2 separate regions of the Homo sapiens genome follow, and region 1 is linked to region 2. The links are contacts of gene promoters, found by promoter capture Hi-C in human tissues and cell types (Jung and others, 2019). All regions are on one chromosome and are shown on one strand. The core of a region is centred on a gene start or on the middle of the fragment in contact, and the rest is flanking DNA. Distances in the headings are between cores, read along the strand shown.

What was found. Contacts are between HindIII fragments. The study calls those that stand out against the background at their distance.
Region 1: a fragment that was not itself captured here is called in contact with the fragment with the promoter of CNTLN in region 2 in 1 of the 25 tissues and cell types used here (lymphoblastoid cells).

Annotation. Positions count from the first base shown.
Region 1 is chr9:18,304,201-18,307,213 of GRCh38, forward strand. It overlaps a transcript of ADAMTSL1 not described here. Among named protein-coding and RNA genes, the nearest start is that of ADAMTSL1, 170 kb to the right of the region's middle. The HindIII fragment of the contact is 4,237 bases long and covers 1-3,013 here.
Region 2 is chr9:17,133,561-17,136,485 of GRCh38, forward strand. CNTLN (centlein) reads left to right here and starts at 1,480. Exons shown (of 26, transcript NM_017738.4): 1 at 1,480-1,865. The coding sequence starts at 1,506. RefSeq lists an enhancer at 1,761-2,324. The HindIII fragment of the contact is 19,584 bases long and covers 1-2,925 here.

The DNA.
Region 1 (3,013 bases), core at 468-2,967, 1.2 Mb after region 2:
CCAATTTGTTTGGAAAGCAACATGAACCTGGAATCTTTGAAGTGACGGTGGCAAGAAGGGGGTCTAGAGCTTGGCCCACTTCTTTCACTCCTGCCCCTACCCTCAACATGCCCTGAGGGGCCTCAAGGAATAGAGTTTTGAAAAAAAAAATACTTTTTATAAAAGAAAACCTTGTGAGCTCCTGGGTGTCGGAAATGTTTATTTTAATTCCACTGTACTGTGCCTAGTGTTATCATGTGATATTAAAATAGCAAAACCTGGTTTTGCTATTTTGCAAAACCAAATTAAAATTTGGAATCAATAATTAGTGGAGCAAAGGATTTTCTCAAAAACTCACACTTAAAAACATATATAAGCGTGTTATTTACCTACACTGAGGAAATAAACTACATCCAAACACATTTGGTATTGCTGATCTAGACAAGTTTGGTAGCACAAGGGCCTAAACTTTTTTTTTTTTTAGGACTATGCTTTAGTATGTTCATTATAAAACTTCCTCTCTAATGAATAGTAAGATTCTGAAAAAAATAGTATCTTTGTTACTTGTATGGAGTTGAGGCATATTCCATAACTCATATTTGCATTAATTCAAAATGACTTTCTCATGGGTCTAAATTAGGAAAGTTTTTACTATAAACTATTTTTATAAGAAATAGAAAAATGTTTCTGTTTTATTCTAAGAAAATATGTACTTAAACAGTGTACGTTCCTGGGCAAGATGGCTGAATAGGAACAGCTCCGATCTGCAGCTCCCAGCGTGATCTACACAGAAGGCAGGTGATTTCTGCATTTCCAGCTGAGGTACCAGGTGCATCTCATTGGGCCTGGTTAGACAGTGGGTGCAGCCCATGGATGGGGAGCTGAAGCAGGGTGGGGCATTGCCTCACCGGGAAAGTACAAGTGGTCAGGAACTCCCTCTCCTAGACAAGGGAAGCCGTGAGGGACTGTGCCATGAGCAACACTGCACTCTGGCCCAGATACTATGCTTTTCCCATGGTCTTCACAACCTACAGACCAGGAGATTCCCTTGGCTGCCTACGCCACCAGGGTCCTGGGTTTCAAGCACAAAACTGGGCGGCTGTTTGAGCAGCCACCAAGCTAGCTGCAGGAGATTTTTTTCATTCCCCAGTGGCACCTGGAAGACCAGTGAGACAGAATCGTTCACTCTCCTAGAAAGGGGGCTGAAGCCAGGCAGCTAAGTGGTCTAGCTCAGGGGATCCGACCCCCACAGAGCCCAGCAAGCTAAGATCCACTGGCTTGAAATTCTCGCTGCCAGCACAGCAGTCTGAAGTCTATCTGGGATGCTCAAGCTTGGTGGGGGGAGGGGCATCCGCCATTACTGAGGCTTGAGTAGGCGGTTTTCCCCTCACAGTGTAAACAAAGCCGCAGGGAAGTTCAGACTGGGCAGAGCCCACTGCAGCTCAGCAAAGCCACTGTAGCCAGACTACCTGTCTAGATTCCTCCTCTCTGGTAAAGGCATCTCTGAAAGAAATGCAGCAGCCGCAGTCAGGGGCTTATAGAGCAAACTCCCATCTCCTTGGGACACAGCACTTGGGGGATGGGGTGGTTGTGGGTGCAGCTTCAGCAGACTTGAACGTTCCTGCCTGTTGGCCTTGAAGAGAGCAGTGGATCACGCAGCACAGCACTCAAGCTCTACTAAGAGACAGACTGCCTCCTCAAGTGGGTCCCTGACCTCCATGACTCCTGACTGAGAGACACCTCCCAGCAGGGCTCAATAGACACCTCATACAGGAGAGCTCCAGCTGGCATCTGGCAGGTGCCCCTCTGGGACAAAGCTTCCAGAGGAAGGAACAGGCAGCAATTTTTACTGTTCTGTAGCCTCCACTGGTGATACCCAGGCAAACAGGGCATGGAGTATCCAGCAGACCTGCAGCAGAGGGGCCTGACTGTTAGGAAAACTAACAAACAGAAAGGAATAGCGTCAACATCAACAAAAAAGACATCCACACATAAACCACATCCGAAGATCACCAACATCAAAGACCAAAGGAAGATAAATACACGAAGATGAGGAAAACCCAGCACAAAAAGGCTGAGTATTCCAAAAATCAGAATGCTTCTTCTCCTCCAAAGGATCACAACTCCTCACCAGCAAGGGAACAAAACTGGATGGAGAATGAGTTTGACGAATTGACAGAAATAGGCTTCAGAAAGTGGATAATAACAAACTCCTCCAAGCAAAAGGAGCGTATTCTAACCCAATGCAAGGAAGCTAAGAACTTTGAAAAAAGGTTAGAGAAATTGCTAACTAGAATAACCAGTTTAGAGAAGAACAGAAATGAATGATGGAGCTGAAAAACACAGCACGAGAACTCATGAAGAATACACAAGTATCAATAGCTTAATTGATGAAGCAGAAGAAAGGATATCAGAGATTGAAGATCAACTTGATGAAATAGACCATGAAGACAAGATTAGAGAAAAAAAGAATGAAAAGGAACAAACAAAGCCTCCAAGAAATATGGGACTATGTGAAAAGACCAAATCTACGTTTGATTGGTGTACCTGAAAGTGATGGGGAGAATGGAACCAAGTTGGAAAACACTCTTCAGTATATTATCCAGGAGAACTTCCCCAACCTAGCAAGACAGGCCAACATTCAAATTCAGGAAATACAGAAAACCTCACAAAGATACTCCTCAAGAAGAGCAAACCCAAGACACATAATTGTCAAATTCACCAAGGTTGAAATGAAGGAAAAAATGTTAAGGGCAGGAAGAGAGAAAGGTTGGGTTACCCACAAAGGGAAGCCCACCAGACTAACAGTGGATCTCTCTGCAGAAACCCTACAAGCCAGAATAGAGTGGGGGCCAATATTCAACATTCGTAAAGAAAAGAATTTTCAACCCAGAATTTCATATCCAGCCAAACTAAGCTTCATAAGCGAAGGGGAAATAAAATCCTTTACAGACAAGCAAATGCTGAGAGATTTTTTCACCACCAGGCCTGCTTTACAAAAGCTCCTGAAGGAAGCTCTAAATATGAAAAGAAA
Region 2 (2,925 bases), core at 230-2,729:
GATCAAAGTACAGGTTTTCAGAGTTAAGTGGAATTCAGTGAATTCAAAGCCTAGCTTTTCTGATACCAGACATGGCACTTCAGAGAAGTTACAGTAACCTTGCAAGTCTGTTTCCTCACTAGTAAAAATGGAGATATATAATAATCTAATTGAAGGTGACATATGTATTAAGTGAGTTCATATATGAAAAGTGCTTAGCACTGGACTCAGCATATGGTAAATGTTCAGTAGGTTAGCTAGTTCTAAGACAGGCTTATAAACATACTTTTTCTAATGTACTCTTTAATAAGTTTTTGTGAGGAATTCACCTTCAGTTTGAAAGAAGTCCACTTATCTTGGTTGCCTTGGCAGGATTCTAATTGGGAGGGTGTCTTTTGGCATCCTGACTAGATTCTCATGCAGAGATGGTGATATTTTGGTTAAATGAAGTTAACAGTAAAGTGGTCATCTCTCTACTTCTGCTCTCAACCCCCATCTCAGCTTTCCCCAAGTATTCTGGAACCCTTTCTGAAGAAGAGGGCAGTTCTAACTTTCAGGGATGTTCTGGTGCCAGCTCAATATGCATCTCATTAATCTTATCAATAGTAACAAAGTATTTGAAGGGCAAAGAAAGATACGATTACTACCTATTTGAAGTTTATAAAGAAAGCCAGAAGAAAAAGAAAAAAAAGAGAACAAAAGATAAAGTAGGTCTTGTTTCTTCATCCACGCTCCAAATTACTGATTTCAAACTGCTCCAAGGACCCAAACTGTTCAGCAATGTGGGCTACACTTCCTCTGATATCCAGCCAACGCATAAAGAAGCTGACATAAAAACTCAAAGGAAATCATGACTCCTGCAAAACAAAAGACAAAGGGTGTACAAAGGATCATCATTCAAGTTGGAAACCTGCTTGATAGTCCCAGATCAGCACAAGGCTTTCCACATCTCCTTGACATTAGTCAGCTGGATGTCAGCTGTACTAAAGCAGTTTTGCCAAGGGGTGTGAAGAAAACACTTAAGTGTAAAACGTATTCCTTGATCCTCAAGGAGCTTACAACAGGGCTGGGGAGATTAGCCGTGTAACTGACACTCCAGGGCGGTCAATGAAACGTGTCACACGAGTTGGCAGGGGCCTTGAAGGAGAGGGATTTCACAGTTAAGGATCATTTGGGGCTGGGGGCTTGTCAAGGAAGGCTTTAAGAGGTGGGATGTAAGTGGCAGGCAGGGCTTTAGGTGGGCGGGAAATCCAGGCGATCCTGGCCAAGGACTCAGGCACAGGACGCTGGGATGGCCTGCCCGGCGGACCGGCCTTACCCTTTCGGGCCACGGCGCGTGCGTACCCCAAGGCTCGCGCTGGGCGCATTGCCCGCGGGAAGCCGGCCAGGACCAGAGAACACGGGACACCGCGGGCCAAGGCGGGAAAAGCCTCGCGCATGCGCGGTTCGGCGTTCCGGGCTCGCCGGGTTGGGGAAAGGGAGGTGGAGTTTCCAACAGGGAACTTGACCCGTTAGCAGCCGCAGCCATGGCGGCGCGTTCGCCTCCCTCACCGCACCCTTCGCCCCCAGCGCGACAGCTGGGCCCCAGGTCCCCACGTGTTGGGCGGGGAGCTGAAGTACACGCAATGCGCAGCGAGGCCTCGGGTTTTGCCGGCGCAGCGCGGGAGGTGGTCGCGGACGAAAGTGATAAAATCTGGGTGGGTGAAGAAGGGTCAGGGGGCCGGCGAGGGCCTGGGGGGGCAGCTCCGGCTCATGCTCCCCTCCTCAGCGCGCCCATGGGGTCCAGACGGCTAGAGGGCATCTCGGTAGAGGAGGCGATGGTGACCCGGACGCAGCTGCTGGAGGAAGAGCTGAGCAGCCTAAAGGAGGAGTTGGCCCTGTGTCAGGTATCGAGGAGTCTCGCAGTCCCCCTTTCCCCACCACAGCGGGGCCGGGACCCGTGGGGAGGCGCGCCTTTCTCCCTCTGCCTTGGGACCTACCCCGCCCAGCGACGCTCCCTGGCAGATGCACACCCTGCTTCGCTCGCGGCCGGGGGCTGGAGGGACGCGGCTGCGCCCGGCTCCCCAAACCCGGGCCCCTGCCCCTTTCCGAACTGCGGCCAGACAGGCTTCGCCTCCGCGCCCGGGTTTGGTTTTGGTCACTTGGATACTCGCAGTCGCATCCTCTCCGCTTCCCCCCCAAGCCCAAGTTCTTGGTGGTGACGGTAGCTGATACCTGCCGGGGGCCCAGGAGTGACATGCAGTCCACTAGTTGAAATGAACAGGAAAGTGTAAACACTTCGGTTAGAGTAAAATCCATCGATGAAGGAGCCTGTTTTTAAAATTTCAAACCCACACTTGGCTTTGTTTTTACCCAGTCAAACTTAAGTTGTAAACACAGACGAGTAACGTTTAGAAAGTCTCAGAGCCGGGAACTTAACAATAGATGATGCTTGGTACTTGTTTATTAACCAGCTATGGTAATTCCGCGGTCCTTGAGTGAGAAATCACATTTTCATGTGATCTTGCCAGTGAAAAACATTTGCTAAATCAATTGCATTAAAATTACTTTCCTGTTTGTAGAGTTTTTGTAAGGATGGACTTGACTATACTCATGTTCAAAGAGATTGAATTTTCCTTTAGTTTTGCATCCTTACCATCATCTCTTTTGATTTTACCAGAACCTTTAGATAGGGTTGGGAGATTGGATGTGGGAAACTCACTGAACAGTAGATCTTTAAGTCACTCTGTCTTCAACTTAGAAACCAATTAGGAGCTGCTGAACATCAAAGTAACTTTGTGAACAGTATCATCAGTTTAATAAAACAGTTCATGAAATTCATTCTCTGTCGCCCAGGCTGGAGTGCAGTGGTGCAGTCTCAGCTCACTGCAAGCTCCGCCTCCCGGGTTCACGCCATTCTCCAGCCTCAGCCTCCCGAATAGCTGGGACTACAGGTGTCCGCCACCA